Linked DNA regions of Homo sapiens: region 1 is linked to region 2. The links are contacts of gene promoters, found by promoter capture Hi-C in human tissues and cell types (Jung and others, 2019). All regions are on one chromosome and are shown on one strand. Each heading gives the region's core, a stretch centred on a gene start or on the middle of the fragment in contact. The rest is flanking DNA. Distances are from core to core; before and after follow the strand shown. Region 1 has its middle 4.8 kb from the start of PHF2. Region 2 holds the start of BARX1 (BARX homeobox 1).

Evidence for each region. Contacts are between HindIII fragments. The study calls those that stand out against the background at their distance.
Region 1: a fragment that was not itself captured here is called in contact with the fragment with the promoter of BARX1 in region 2 in 1 of the 25 tissues and cell types used here (liver).

The regions. Positions count from the first base shown.
Region 1 is chr9:93,568,716-93,574,813 of GRCh38, reverse strand. No RefSeq gene overlaps it. Among named protein-coding and RNA genes, the nearest start is that of PHF2, 4.8 kb to the left of the region's middle. The HindIII fragment of the contact is 8,158 bases long and covers 1-6,098 here.
Region 2 is chr9:93,951,461-93,957,997 of GRCh38, reverse strand. It overlaps BARX1 (BARX homeobox 1), which reads left to right and starts at 2,643. Exons shown (of 4, transcript NM_021570.4): 1 at 2,643-3,074; 2 at 4,811-5,102; 3 at 5,185-5,269; 4 at 5,670-6,371. The coding sequence starts at 2,852. The coding sequence ends at 5,834. It overlaps BARX1-DT (BARX1 divergent transcript), which reads right to left and starts at 2,164. Exons shown (of 2, transcript NR_144455.1): 1 at 1,130-2,164; 2 at 76-485. LOC124902216 (a long non-coding RNA gene) reads right to left here and starts at 2,472. Exons shown (of 3, transcript XR_007061672.1): 1 at 2,358-2,472. RefSeq lists enhancers at 1,587-2,117, 2,118-2,649, 4,061-4,624, 4,625-5,189. The HindIII fragment of the contact is 32,678 bases long and covers 1-6,537 here.

The DNA of each region.
Region 1 (6,098 bases), core at 2,196-4,695, 380 kb after region 2:
CACTTCCTTGATAGATACACTCTCCCTCACCCTTACAGCAGTACTAAAGTAGTCAGGTGAGCAGTGCCCAAATGAAGCTGGAAACTTCTAGAGGCTGCTGTGATGCAGGGGAGGCTGCCCTGATGTGGGCATCCCCCCATCCCTTAACACTCCTATTAGCCTGTTTACAAACAGTGACAGTAGTTAGCCAACATTTAGCAAATGCTTTTACCAGGACAGTGCCCTGGGCTCAGTTCTTCACGAGGTTTTACCAGTACCTAACCAGATGTTTGTAAGCGCTTAGCAAATTCCTGGGTCATGATGGCAATTACTACATACTCAGGACTCTCCTTTGGTGCCTTTAGGTATTGGTATTAGTGCCATTTCACAGAAGTGAAAACTGAGGCGCTAAGCAATTAAACATCCAGCCAGACAGAGGATGTCAGCTCCCTGGTGAGAGGGCAGAGGGTGGGAGCCAGTGAGGAGCCCTCAGCTGGTCTCCAAGTCTTGGGCCTGTGCTCCCTGCCCCGCAGCCACCGCACAGAATGTGTCTGGAGAAGCTCGGCCTCCCTGCTAGTCGTTCGGGGTGTCCACCCCACCCACCTCCCAGCCCTGCCCTTCAGATGGTCTCCTGTGCCCACCAGATACATTCCTTTTGTTCAAAGCCCTTCCATGGCTGCCTGCCATCTATGGGATAAAACAAGTGTCATCAGAAGCCCACAAGCTCCCTCTGTTTGGCTTCTCCCTATGGCTTCCCCTTTCTTTTTGTTTTTTCTTTTTCTTTTTTTTTTTTTTTTTTTGAAATGGAGTTTCACTCTTGTTGCCCAGGCTGGAGTGCAGTGGCACGATCTCGGCTCACTGCAACCTCCGCCTCCCGGGTTCAAGTGATTCTCCTGCCTCAGCCTCCCGAGTAGCTGGGATTACAGGCATGTGCCACCACAGCTGGCTAATTTTGTATTTTTAGTAGAGAAGGGGTTTCTCCATGTTGGTCAGGCTGGTCTCAAACTCCTGACCTCAGGTGATCCGCCCGCCTCCACCTCACAAAGTGCTGGGATTTCAGGCGTGAGCCACTGTGCCCAGCTGACTTCCCCTTTCTTTTTTCCATCTCCTTCAGGACATGCACCTCCCCACTCCTCCCTCCTTCCCTCCTTCTCTCTCACTCCTCTACTGAGGTATTTATTGAGCATCTACTGTGTCCTGAGCAGTGTTGTAGACACTGGGGACTCAGCAGAGTCTCAGCTCTGTTGGAGTTCACATTGGAATAAAGGGAGACAGTCAATACATACATCAATGCATACAAGATGATTGGGGAGAAAGAAGGGCACTGGCTAGAGGGACACTCCCCTGAGAAGGTGAGCTGGGGGCAAAGGCCAGGATAGGACTGCTCACAGAGGGTAAGGACCATAGCGAACTCACTCTTGCTTGGTGGTAAGGAGGGAAAGGCCCCAGAGAGGAGGACGGTGGCCTTGGAAATTCAGGTAGCATCTTACTGCCTCCCGCACCTCATTGCCTTTGGCCCCAAACTCAATGGCCTCCTCTGCTTAGTGGTTAGCCAACTACTAACTGCCTCAACTACTAACTGCCCGGTGCCTCAATGCCTGCCCACCACACCCTCCATGTTGCCCAGGGCTCAGCTGCACTTCAGCACTTAGGAGGCTATGCCAGTGTCAAGATGTCCCTACCCATAACCTCAGTCAGACTGGCATTGTGCAGGTGCAGCATGAGTGGGTTCACAAGCTCCAGGGCCTCCATGCACCTGCACCCTGGTGCTGCAATGACAGTGCCGCTGCAGCATGGATGTGTTTTATTCCCCTTCCTACCCAGCCATCAGCATAGCCTGCTCCAGGGCCTGTGGTTCACACATTCACTAAACATGTGTTGAGTGCAAGTGCAGGTTTTTTGGCAAAATTGGGGTTACATATACATGATATAAACCTTACCATTTTAACCATTTTTAATGCACAGTTTGGTGGTATTAAGTACATTCACACTATTGTGCAACCACCACCACCATCCATCTCCAGAAAATTTGCCACGGTCCCCAGTGGAAACTCTGTCCCTTATAACACCACGCCCCTCCTCCTCCAGCCCCTGGCAGCCACCATTTGCTTTTTGTCTCTATGAATTGGACTCCTCTAGGTATCTTATATACGTGGAATCACACAGTATTTGTCCTTTTGTGACCAGTTTATTTCACTTAACATAATGTCCTCAAGTTTCATGCCTACTGTAGCATGGGTCAGAACTTGCTTCCTTTTTAAGACTGAATAATATTCCCATTGTATGTATGTACCACACTTTGTTTCTCCATTCATCTGCCAGTGGATACTTGGGTGGCATCCATCCTTTGGCTGTTGTGAATAATGCTGTTATGAATGTTAGCATGCAAATAACTGTTGGAGTCCCTGCTTTCACTTCTTTTGGGTATATATCCAGAAGTGGAACTGCTGGATCACATGGTGATTCAATTTTTGTATTTTTTGAGGAACTGCCATACCATTTTCCACAGTGGCTATACTATTTTACATTCCCACCAGGAATGAAAAAGAGTTCCAGTTACTCCACGTCTACATCAACGCTTATTATTTTCTGTTTTGTTTTTTTAAAGACTATTTTGGCTACTTGGGGTCTCTTGAGATTCCATGTTTTCTAGAATGGATTTTTCCTTTAGAAAATTTATTTCTGCAAGGAAACAATGTTGGGATTTTCATAAGGATTGCGTAAATCTGTAGATTGCTTTTAAGAGATTGACCTTTTAACAGTAAGTCTTATAATCCACAGACACAGGCTGTCTTTTCATTTATTTGTCTCTTTTTAAATTGCTTTGAGCAAAGTTTGGTAGTTTTCCATTTTCAGTGTACAAGTATTTTGTCTCCTTGACTAAGTTTATTCCTGAGTATTTTATTCTTTTTGATGCTACTATAAATGGATTTTTTTTCCATAATTTCCTTTTTAGATTTTTTTTTTTTTTTTCTGAGGCAGAGTCTTGCTCTGTCACCCAGGCTGGAGTGCAGTGGCATGATCTCGGCTCACTGCAGCCTCCACCTGTGAGACTCAGGTGATTCTCCTGCCTCAGCTTCCCAAGTAGCTGGGATAACAGGCATGTGCCACCACACCTGACTAATTTTTGTATTTTTAGTAGACACAGGGTTTCACCATGTTGGCCAGACTGGCCTCGAACTCTTGACCTCAGGCCATCCACCTCCCTCCGCCTTCCAGAGTGCTGGGATTACAGGTGTGAGCCACTGCGCCTGGCTGTTTTAAGATTGTTCATTGTTAGTGTATGGAAACAAAACTAATTTTCATATGTTGATTTTGTATCTTGCTCTTTGCCAAATTCATAGGTTTTGGAGTGGTTTTATGTCTGTGGACTCTTTAGGGTTCCTATATCTTGATGATCTTACATGATGATATAAGATCATGTCATCTGTGAACAGATAATTTTACTTCTTTTCCAGTTTGGATGCCTTTTTTTTTTTCTTTTCCTTTTTCTTGTGTAATTGCTCTGGCTAGTACTTCCAGTACTATGTTGAATAGAAGTAGGGAGAGTGGGCATCCTTGCCTTCTTCCTCATCTTACAGAAAATGCTTTCAGCTTTTCACCATTGAGTAGGATTTTAGCTGTCAGCTTTTCACATATGGCCTTTACTATGTTGAGGAAGTTTCCTTCTATTCCTAGTGTATTTAATTTTTTAATCAAGAAAGGGTGTTGAATTTTGTTAAATGCTTTTTCTACATTAATTGAGATGACCATGTAGGTTCTTATTGCTCATTCTGTTAACATGTGTATTACATTGATTGATTTTTGGATGCTGAACCATCCTTGCATTCTGGGAATAAATCCCACTTGTTCATGGCGTATGATCCTTTTAATACGCTACGAATTCAGTTTGCAAGTATTTTGTTGAGGATTTTGGCATCAATATTCATAAGGAATATTGGTCTGTAGTGTTCTTCTAGTATCTTTGTCTGGCTTTGGTATCATGGTAATCATGGCCTCATCAAAAGAGCTTGAAAGTATTCCCTCCTCTTCAATTTTCTTTAAGGGTTTGAAAAGGACTGGTGTTAATTTTTCTTTAAATGTTTTGTACAATTCACCAGTGTAGCCATCTGTTCCTGGACTTTTCTTTGTTGTGAGGTTTTTGATTAGTGATCCAATCTCCTTACTAGTTGTAGGTCTGTTGAGATTTTTTGTTTCTTCATCATTCAGTCTTGGTAAGTTTTGTATGTCTAGAAATTTGTCCATTTCATCTAGGTTATTTTGTTGGCACACAACCAATGCAGGTTTCATAGACTGAATGAGGCAGAAACATTCCTACTTCCATAGATACCATAGGCCAGAGCAAGAGACAGGTAACTAATAATTGATGGGGGTGGAAAATGTTAGAAAGGAAATACTAGCTTGAGGTTGGGTGTGTATTTGTGAAAGATCAGTTGATTTGGTCAGTGCATAGAAACTTCAAATACTGGGCCCCTTCTTGGAGTACCTGGGGAAATTTTTTAAGCCATCTGGGCTTTTCTGACAGGTATGAAAGTGACCCTCCTTCTTGACCATCTCTAGGATGGTCCTGTGATGTTTGGATGCAGTGAGCTTGTGGACAAGTCTCTGAGCCAGGTGACTACATTATTTACTACTATCCAAAAGGGTGCTGTTAATAAAGCACCAAAACAGGGGCAAACTGAGGCTATCCTGGGCAAACTGAGACTGATGTGACCCTCTCTATAGCCCATACTGGCATCAGTTGAGTTTGTAGAGATGGACATTCACAAATGCCAGGAGTAGGCATGGTTTCATGAGGTCAGGATGGGTCTGCACAGGTGCCTCCAGCTGTTTGCTTCCTGAACTGATGGAACTTGCTGGGCACAGCCTGGGAAAAGGCCATCCTGGGTGGCCATCCTGGTCCACCCAAGGTGCCTGGAATCTGCTTGGGTAGCTCCCACCTGCCCTCTAGGTCATTCTTCAGAGAGGCTTCCCTGACACCTTCCTCCTACCCCCACCCATGTAAGTTCCTCATTTCCTCTGCATTTGTCCTTCATAGAACTTATTACCACTGCTGTTGCATTTTTTTTTTCTTGAGTGCGTTTTCACATGGCTGTCCTTTACAAACTCTGGTGAAGTCCCACAGCCAGTTCAGCACAGGGCAAAGCACATTAATGAAAAGCTTATTTTGTCCCATGTGCAGGTCTTTGGTCAACTTAGCCTGGGCTGTGTTACAGCCAAGACTGGAAGCTTCCCTGGGGTACAGGGAGGAGTAACCAGACAGCTTGGGGACAAAGGTGGGGTGGATGAGGGCAGGGCTGCCAGGCTGGCCAGCAGCAGGCTCCTGGCAAAAAGGCCTCTGCACCATCTACTCCACAACGTGGGGAGCCAAGTAGCATAGGACTTTTGTCCAAGATATAGTGAGTAAGGGTAGGGAGTTGAGGCTAACAAGAAAGTATTGCATTCTCAGAAGAACTGAAAGTAGAATAAAACTGAGGGAGGGATGAGAGTCACCCCTAAGGTTACTGTCCATCATAAAACACCTGTATTCTGCTGTCTGCCCCATGCAGTGCAGAGGTAGGCTCCCTCTGAGCAGGGAGAAGGAATGCAGGGCAAGGAGGGGTGTCCTGGAAAGCAGAGCAGCCTAACACTACCTTGGTCCTTGTTGTTGATGGTATAGAGAAAGGTATAGACAGTGAATTATTTCTTAAAATTCTTACCTGATTGTTTGGGAGATCATAAAACAGCCAGGAGAGACATTAGAAGTTCCCTGTCAATTGAAAAATGAAGAAATTATGGGCAAATTAAATGTAAGAGGGGAAATGTTCACCCTCACTAGAAATCAAAGTCATGCAAATAAAAACCCATTTTTTAACCTGTCAAATTGGCAAACACCAGTGCCTTGACTGTGCCCAGCAGCCAGGCTAGTACAGACAAAGAGCTCCTGGACCCTGGATACCAAGCAGCGTTCCGGAGCTAAATCAGCAGGAGCACCAAAAGACTCCCTTCCCTCACCCTTCCCCCACCCTTCCCCCACCCTTCCCCACTGGGAGATTCTTCTGATGAAATGCTAACCAGGAATAATGACACTGGTCCTCACAAGACTCACCTACAGGGTAGCATGGATACCTGGAGCCCAC
Region 2 (6,537 bases), core at 1,394-3,893:
AATCTAGAGATGAGGCCTCCATCCTGAAAATGACCCCCTTCCCCACAAGCTGACCAAGAAGCTACCCCAGGGGGATGGCTCATAGTAAAATAAGTTTAGTGACAGCTGATGAACAGTGTGATCCCCAAATCCTTGGATCTGGAATCTGGGGACCCATTTTGAGGATGTGAGACCCTCAGGTCTTGAGCATGGGGCAGAGATGGTTCAAATTTGGGTAGCTTCTGTTAGGGCCCAAATAACAGGGGATGGGACAGAGGCTAGCTGGGCCTACTCAGGGGAGAAACCACCACTAGGCTATGCCCTTAGGGAGATGCAGAAGCCAGGGGGTGAGGAAGGGGCAGGGGCCCTGCTAAGATGGGGGAGGTGAGGGAGGAAGCCGGAAAAAGGAGCTTGATATGGCTCTGTACAAGAAGCAATAGTAAACCAGCCCTACTCACTGGAGTCCCTGCACCAGGGCTGCCTCTTGCTGGGCCTCAGTTTCCCATCTGAAAAAGGAGATGGTTGGATTGAGTGATACTATTGCACTCATCTAGGGAGGGTTCTCTGAGTCTACCCGTTGATAGGGGGAGCCTGACTGGGCTGCCCCAGCCTCCCAGGAGACACTGGCTTGTTTCTATTTGCCAGGTAGGATGTCAGTGGCTGCTTGGCCAACAGCGACAGGGCCAGCTTCCTGGTCTCTTGGTCTCTCAGGAGGAGGCCTGCTCAGTGTGGGATACTGTTGCTCTTAGTGCGCCCCTCTCCACCCTTTCCAAAGAACCATGTAGGCTCACAGCACCACTCTCCGAGGGAGTCCGAAGCAACTGGCGGCCATTGAGGCCACCTTCTTTCAGTCCCAATGGTAACTCTGAGTTCAGAAAGTCATGCAACAACTGGGAAGGAGAGACAGTGGGCTCTTGGGACTGGGATCTTACCAGAGTAAGGTAGTCTTTGTCCTCACTCCAGGCCCTACAGACAAAGGATCTGGGCCACTTCCTAGTCCCCACCTGCCCCCCACCCCCACTCCCGAGTCTGGGGCAGGTGCCAGGGACTGAGGGCCAGCCTGAAGGCCTCCCCACCAGCAGCTGGAGCTGGAGAAAGGACTTCAACTTGGGTGGGGGGCATGGCTGTAGGTGTGGTAAGCCCTAGTTACCTGAGGTAAAGACTGAGGCCCCACATGGAGCTCACAGAGGAAGTCCGGGTGGCCCAGGACACCCCCAGTGCATCAGGCGCTGACTGGCAATGGTGGATGGGGCTAGGAGGTAGGCCCTGTGATTCCTGAGAAGGAGGAGGGCAGATGCTCCTCCCCCAACCTCCTGGGGACACTTCTCCCCTCTTGCCTGGAGGAACTGTTTTCTCTCCAAACAGACCTAAGGGCTCCCAGGGTGCAGGACCCTCGGAGTGCAGGACCCCCTCACTGAGTTCTCACAGTCTCTCTGGAGCCAAAGGTCAGCATCTCCTCAGGACAGGTAAGGAAACAGGCCCAGAAAGGGTCAGTGGTTTCACCAGTAGTGGCAGGACCAAAGAGAGGAGTTCAGCGTAGGGTAGCTTTGGGGTTGTTCACTCCACGGCTTGGGCTTATACTCTTCTAAGGATGGAAAGAAAGATCTAGAGAAGGTACTGCCAACTTCCTCCACCATGTTGGAGCTTTTGAGGCTCCGCAATGGAGCCAGGTCCCACCAGAGTTTGGTCTTTACACTCTCAGAGCACCCACTGGCCCCCTGGCCCCAACTCCGCCCAGTAACAGTTTCTTGATGCCCCAAAGCTGGGAAAAGGCAAAGCTGCATCCTTCCCTTCTCCTCGAATCCTTTTCCTTTTCTAACTAGGGGGATGTAACCAGCCTACAGTCTTCTGGGGGCTGTCAAGGAGGATGTGTCCATGGATCACTTGAATTTCCAATTCAAGCAAATCTCGGCTGGAGAACATTTTTCTCTCAGGGCAGCCCGGAGAGAAATGAGGCCGTACATGGTAAACTGAGGCAGAGGTGGGAGGGGTGCACAGGTGCCGCTACCGCTCTGCCCCTTGCATCCCTGAACGCTGCCTCACCCTTGCCGGGTTGGCGGTGTTGAGCCCGGGACTGGAGGCTGCTTGAGACCACCTCCTTCCCAGCTGAGGAGCGCGGCCTTTGCCCCTCCTCCTCCCGACCTTTCCGGGGCTACCTAAAAGCCGATCAAGCCGCCGGTTTTCTAGCTGTTCCCATTTCTTTACCGCCCCCTTCCTCTGCCCCGCCTGCCTCTGTGCCCTCCGTCACGTCACAGCCCGCTGGCTCTCACGCCTCTTTTGGTCTCTCTGCGCACATCTCGGTGGCGTCTCTGGTGCCCTCACATCACTGTCTGGAATCTTGTTTGGCCCACGCCGTCTGCCTCTGCCCCTTCTCTCACCTGTGTCGTTTGATCCCTCCGACTCTCGTCTCTGGGGGTCTTGCCTCCCGAACTCTCCGGCTCTCTCCTTCCAGGGCGTGCGCTCCGCTCAGTCTCCCTCGGTCTCGGTCGGCCGGCCTCTTTCACGTGGCCCCCTCCTTTTTGGCCTCCCTTCCGCCTCCCTCCCTTCTGGGTCCCTCCCTCCGGCTCAGCCTAGGGGTTGGGGGCGGCGGCGCGGGGCGGGGCGGGGCGGGGCGGTGACGCGGGGCTGGCCGGGCAAGAGGCGCGGCGGCGTGGGGAGGGGGCGCAGTCCCGGGTTCGACCGGCCGAGCCCCGCGCGCCCCGCCCGCGCCCTGCGCCTCCGCCCGGCCGGCCGGCGGGGGAGGGGGCATGAGCCGGCGCCCGCGCGCCGCCCCGAGCTGCGGGCCGGCCTAGAGCCCCGCGCGGGCCCCGCGCCGGAGCCAAGCCGTCGCCGCCGCCGCCGCCAAACCGCGGGCGCAGCAGTGGGCGCCGCGATGCAGCGGCCGGGGGAGCCGGGCGCCGCGCGCTTCGGCCCGCCCGAGGGCTGCGCGGACCACCGGCCGCACCGCTATCGCAGCTTCATGATTGAGGAGATCCTCACGGAGCCACCCGGGCCCAAGGGCGCCGCGCCCGCAGCCGCCGCTGCCGCGGCGGGCGAGCTGCTGAAGTTCGGCGTGCAGGCGCTGCTGGCGGCGCGGCCCTTCCACAGCCACCTGGGTACGTGTGGCGGCCGCGGGGTCGCGGGCCGGGCTTGGCGGGAGACAGCGAGCTGAACCGCGGGGGCGCCCCGAGCCTCCTCCGGCATCGAAGCAGCCCCGGGAAGCTGCTCTGGGAGCGCAGGTTCTGGGACCGTCTCTCGGAGCCCTCCAGGCGGGAGGCGGAGGGTGCAAGCTCCAGGCCTCACAGAAACCAGGCCTCGTGCCCGCGGGCCGCCCGGGGAGGGTGTTCGCTCTTTCCTTCACTGCTTCCCTTCGGCCTCCAGCCCGGGGACCCCGAGTGAGCATCCCCAGTGCAGGCGCACTGCCAGGCTACGGACTCTCGTGGGTGGAAGCGACCTCAGGCCACGGGCGCCTGGGCTTCGCCGCAGAGGGATGGCCGGGAGTGGCCGCGGCTGCCCAACCCAGGGAAGTCGGACCTCTGGGGAGGAGGCCTGCGCTCCCGAGGGCTGGGTGCTGACGCGGGCCCAAGCCGGCCCGGAGTCCCCGGGAGCTCCAGCGGGCGAGGAACGCGGCCTTGGCCGCAGTGCGGACCTGCTTCGGCCTTGCCTTGGGGCCAGAGGCCTGACTGTGAGCAGCTGCCTGGCTGTCCCTTCTGGTTTCAGGTCGGCTGGGCCTCTGCAGGGCTTGAACGGCCTGCGCAGACCTTTTCAGCTTCTGCCCTTTCTTCTAATTTGGCGGGGCCTGCTCTGCCCTGATGGTGCTGTCTCCATCGCACTCCACCCTCGTCTTGTCTTTCCCTATCTCGCTTTCCAACCGTCTGCCGGTCGGCCTCCCTCGCTTCTCTCATTGGGGTCGGCCTGCCTCCCATCTCCCACCTTTTCCCTACGGGTCCTCTGCCCCACATTTACCTGCGCCTTGCCCTGCCCTTTCCGACTCCAGCCAGGCTAGGACTCGCACCTCAGTGACAGGCCTGTCGGGGAAGGGAGGCTCCTACGCTGTAGCCGGGACCCCAGCCCTTCAAGTCGCCTTCCCTGCACCCCCCCACCTCCTAGTCGGTGCTCCCTAGCCTGGAGACGGCAGGGCCAGCGCGCTCCTTCTAAGTCCAGCTGGGACTCGGCCATTCGGCTACCTTTCGTCTCCATCTGCTCTGTTGCTACTAATTCGTTTGAAGCGGGCACACAATCATTTTAGGACTGAAGAAAATGGAAACATCTGCATGGGGAAGCGTCTGAAAATAGAAAACGTGAACAATAATTTCCAGGTTCTCAGGGTACTTTGGAATTTCCGGGAAGCACCCAACTCCGGCCCAGATGACTCCTGGCCACCGCATGGCTGTTGTGCCACGCACGGAAGAGCAAATGTGCACGCTCCGTGCATGTTCTTTTTCTAACGCAGCAAGGCTGATTTGGTTGGAGCAAACGCCATCTTCTTAGGACCAGCTGCCGTTTTCTTTTTGGTTTCTACTTTCCCCGAAAGACAAGACACACTCCGAGTTTCTCGCAGCTGCAAACATGTTCATCAGGAACCCCGAGATCTCAGAGGCAGCTGAGGCCTGGGGAACTCCAGGACAGAACACGGACAGGGTCGAGGAGATACTCCCTCCCAAATCTGGGGAACGGCAACGTTGAGGAGGGTCTCCATCTGCGCCACCGGCGCCGACCGGCAGGGCGTGGAGGTTTTGCGCTGGGAGGCACTGGCCAAGCGCGAGCACCCCCGCGGCACGTGGTGCGGCAGTCCCTGGGGCAGAGGAGCGCGGCCGTAGCTCACCCGGGTCCTCATTCTCTTTCTTCGCAGCCGTGCTGAAGGCCGAGCAGGCGGCGGTGTTCAAGTTCCCACTGGCGCCGCTGGGCTGTTCAGGGCTGAGCTCTGCGTTGCTGGCGGCAGGGCCCGGGCTGCCCGGCGCCGCGGGTGCGCCACACCTGCCGCTCGAGTTGCAGCTCCGCGGGAAGCTGGAGGCGGCAGGCCCTGGGGAGCCAGGCACCAAAGCCAAGAAGGGGCGTCGGAGCCGCACTGTGTTCACCGAGCTGCAGCTGATGGGCCTGGAGAAACGCTTCGAGAAGCAGAAGTACCTTTCCACGCCGGACAGGTAGGGCGGTACAAGGCTGGGGCCAGCGGGCTGTGGGAGTGTGGTCACTTGCCTTGCTGAGGGTGCGCCCTGCTCTTTCCAGAATAGATCTTGCTGAGTCCCTGGGCCTGAGCCAGTTGCAGGTGAAGACGTGGTACCAGAATCGGAGGATGAAGTGGAAGAAAATAGTGAGTGTGCCTGGTGGCTTCCCACCCCTCAGCTTCCTGGGCCATGCCCCGGTGCATGCAGAGCTGCTCTCCTCTTTCTCCCCACTGAGACTCTGCCCAACCCCCCGATTCCCTCGGTGCCTGGTACGCACCGGAATCCTCTCAGTTTTTTCTGCCCCTTGGGTAAGCCAACATTTCGTCCTTTCCCGCGGCACCTTCAGGCCTCCTGGCAGTCTTATGCTCCCCAGGCCGGGCCGCTCCCCAGGCGGCATTTGGACAAATGGCCGCCATTTCCCGGGACATTTCCCCACCATTTCCTCATATGGACCCTGCACTCCTTAGTCCTACCTGGGTTCAAGTCTCCTCGGGGGTCCCCAGTCCACGTGCTGGCTCACCCAGGTGCTGGCGGTCCCCCGTGCAGGTGCTGCAGGGCGGCGGCCTGGAGTCTCCCACCAAGCCCAAGGGGCGGCCCAAGAAGAACTCAATTCCAACGAGCGAGCAGCTTACTGAGCAGGAGCGCGCCAAGGATGCAGAGAAACCGGCGGAGGTGCCGGGCGAGCCCAGCGACAGGAGCCGCGAGGACTGAGGGCGGTATACGGTGCGGGGCCTGGGATGCCCGCGCCACCCGCAGCCCCCTCACTCGGCGGAAACCCGCGAGCCGGCCCTTCCGCGTCCAAGAAGTTTACTTCCTAAGCCTTTTTATTATGATCTTGAATGCGGACAATTGGGGCCAAACGAGGAAGGACACAGACCCAAAAGCCAGACCCAGGTCCCAGCGCGCTTCTGGGCTCTAACCTGGGAGACTCGCATCCAGCCCGGCGGAAGCTACAGTCTCTACCCTGAGCTCCGTGGCGCAGAGCGCTCCACGCGTATTCACGCCCCGCTCCTCGCCTGCACCCCCACCCCGTCTGGGGCCTGCCCTCCCGGCCGGGGAGCCTCCAGGCACACACCCGCTTCTGGACGTCGGGGACCCAGCGGTTGGGCTCAGGCCACAACGGCCTGAGATTGCCCCGGGGCAACCCGTCGGCTCGGCCTGGAGGCCGGGTCCCCGATGTCGCTGGGGCCCCTACCCCCTCTTGCGAAGACGGTGACTTTTTTTCCAATAAAATATTTTATGACACAATCGGGCTCGGTGGAGCAGCTTCTGAATCCGCAGGGGGTGAGGGTGGGGGTGGGGGTGGGCTCGGCAAGATAAGCGGAACGCGGGCAGTTGCTTCTTAAACTTCCTTTCCTCCGGCTCTGTCGAAGGCAGCTGTGCTCTTCACCATCAAGCCCGGGCTAGGCACGGC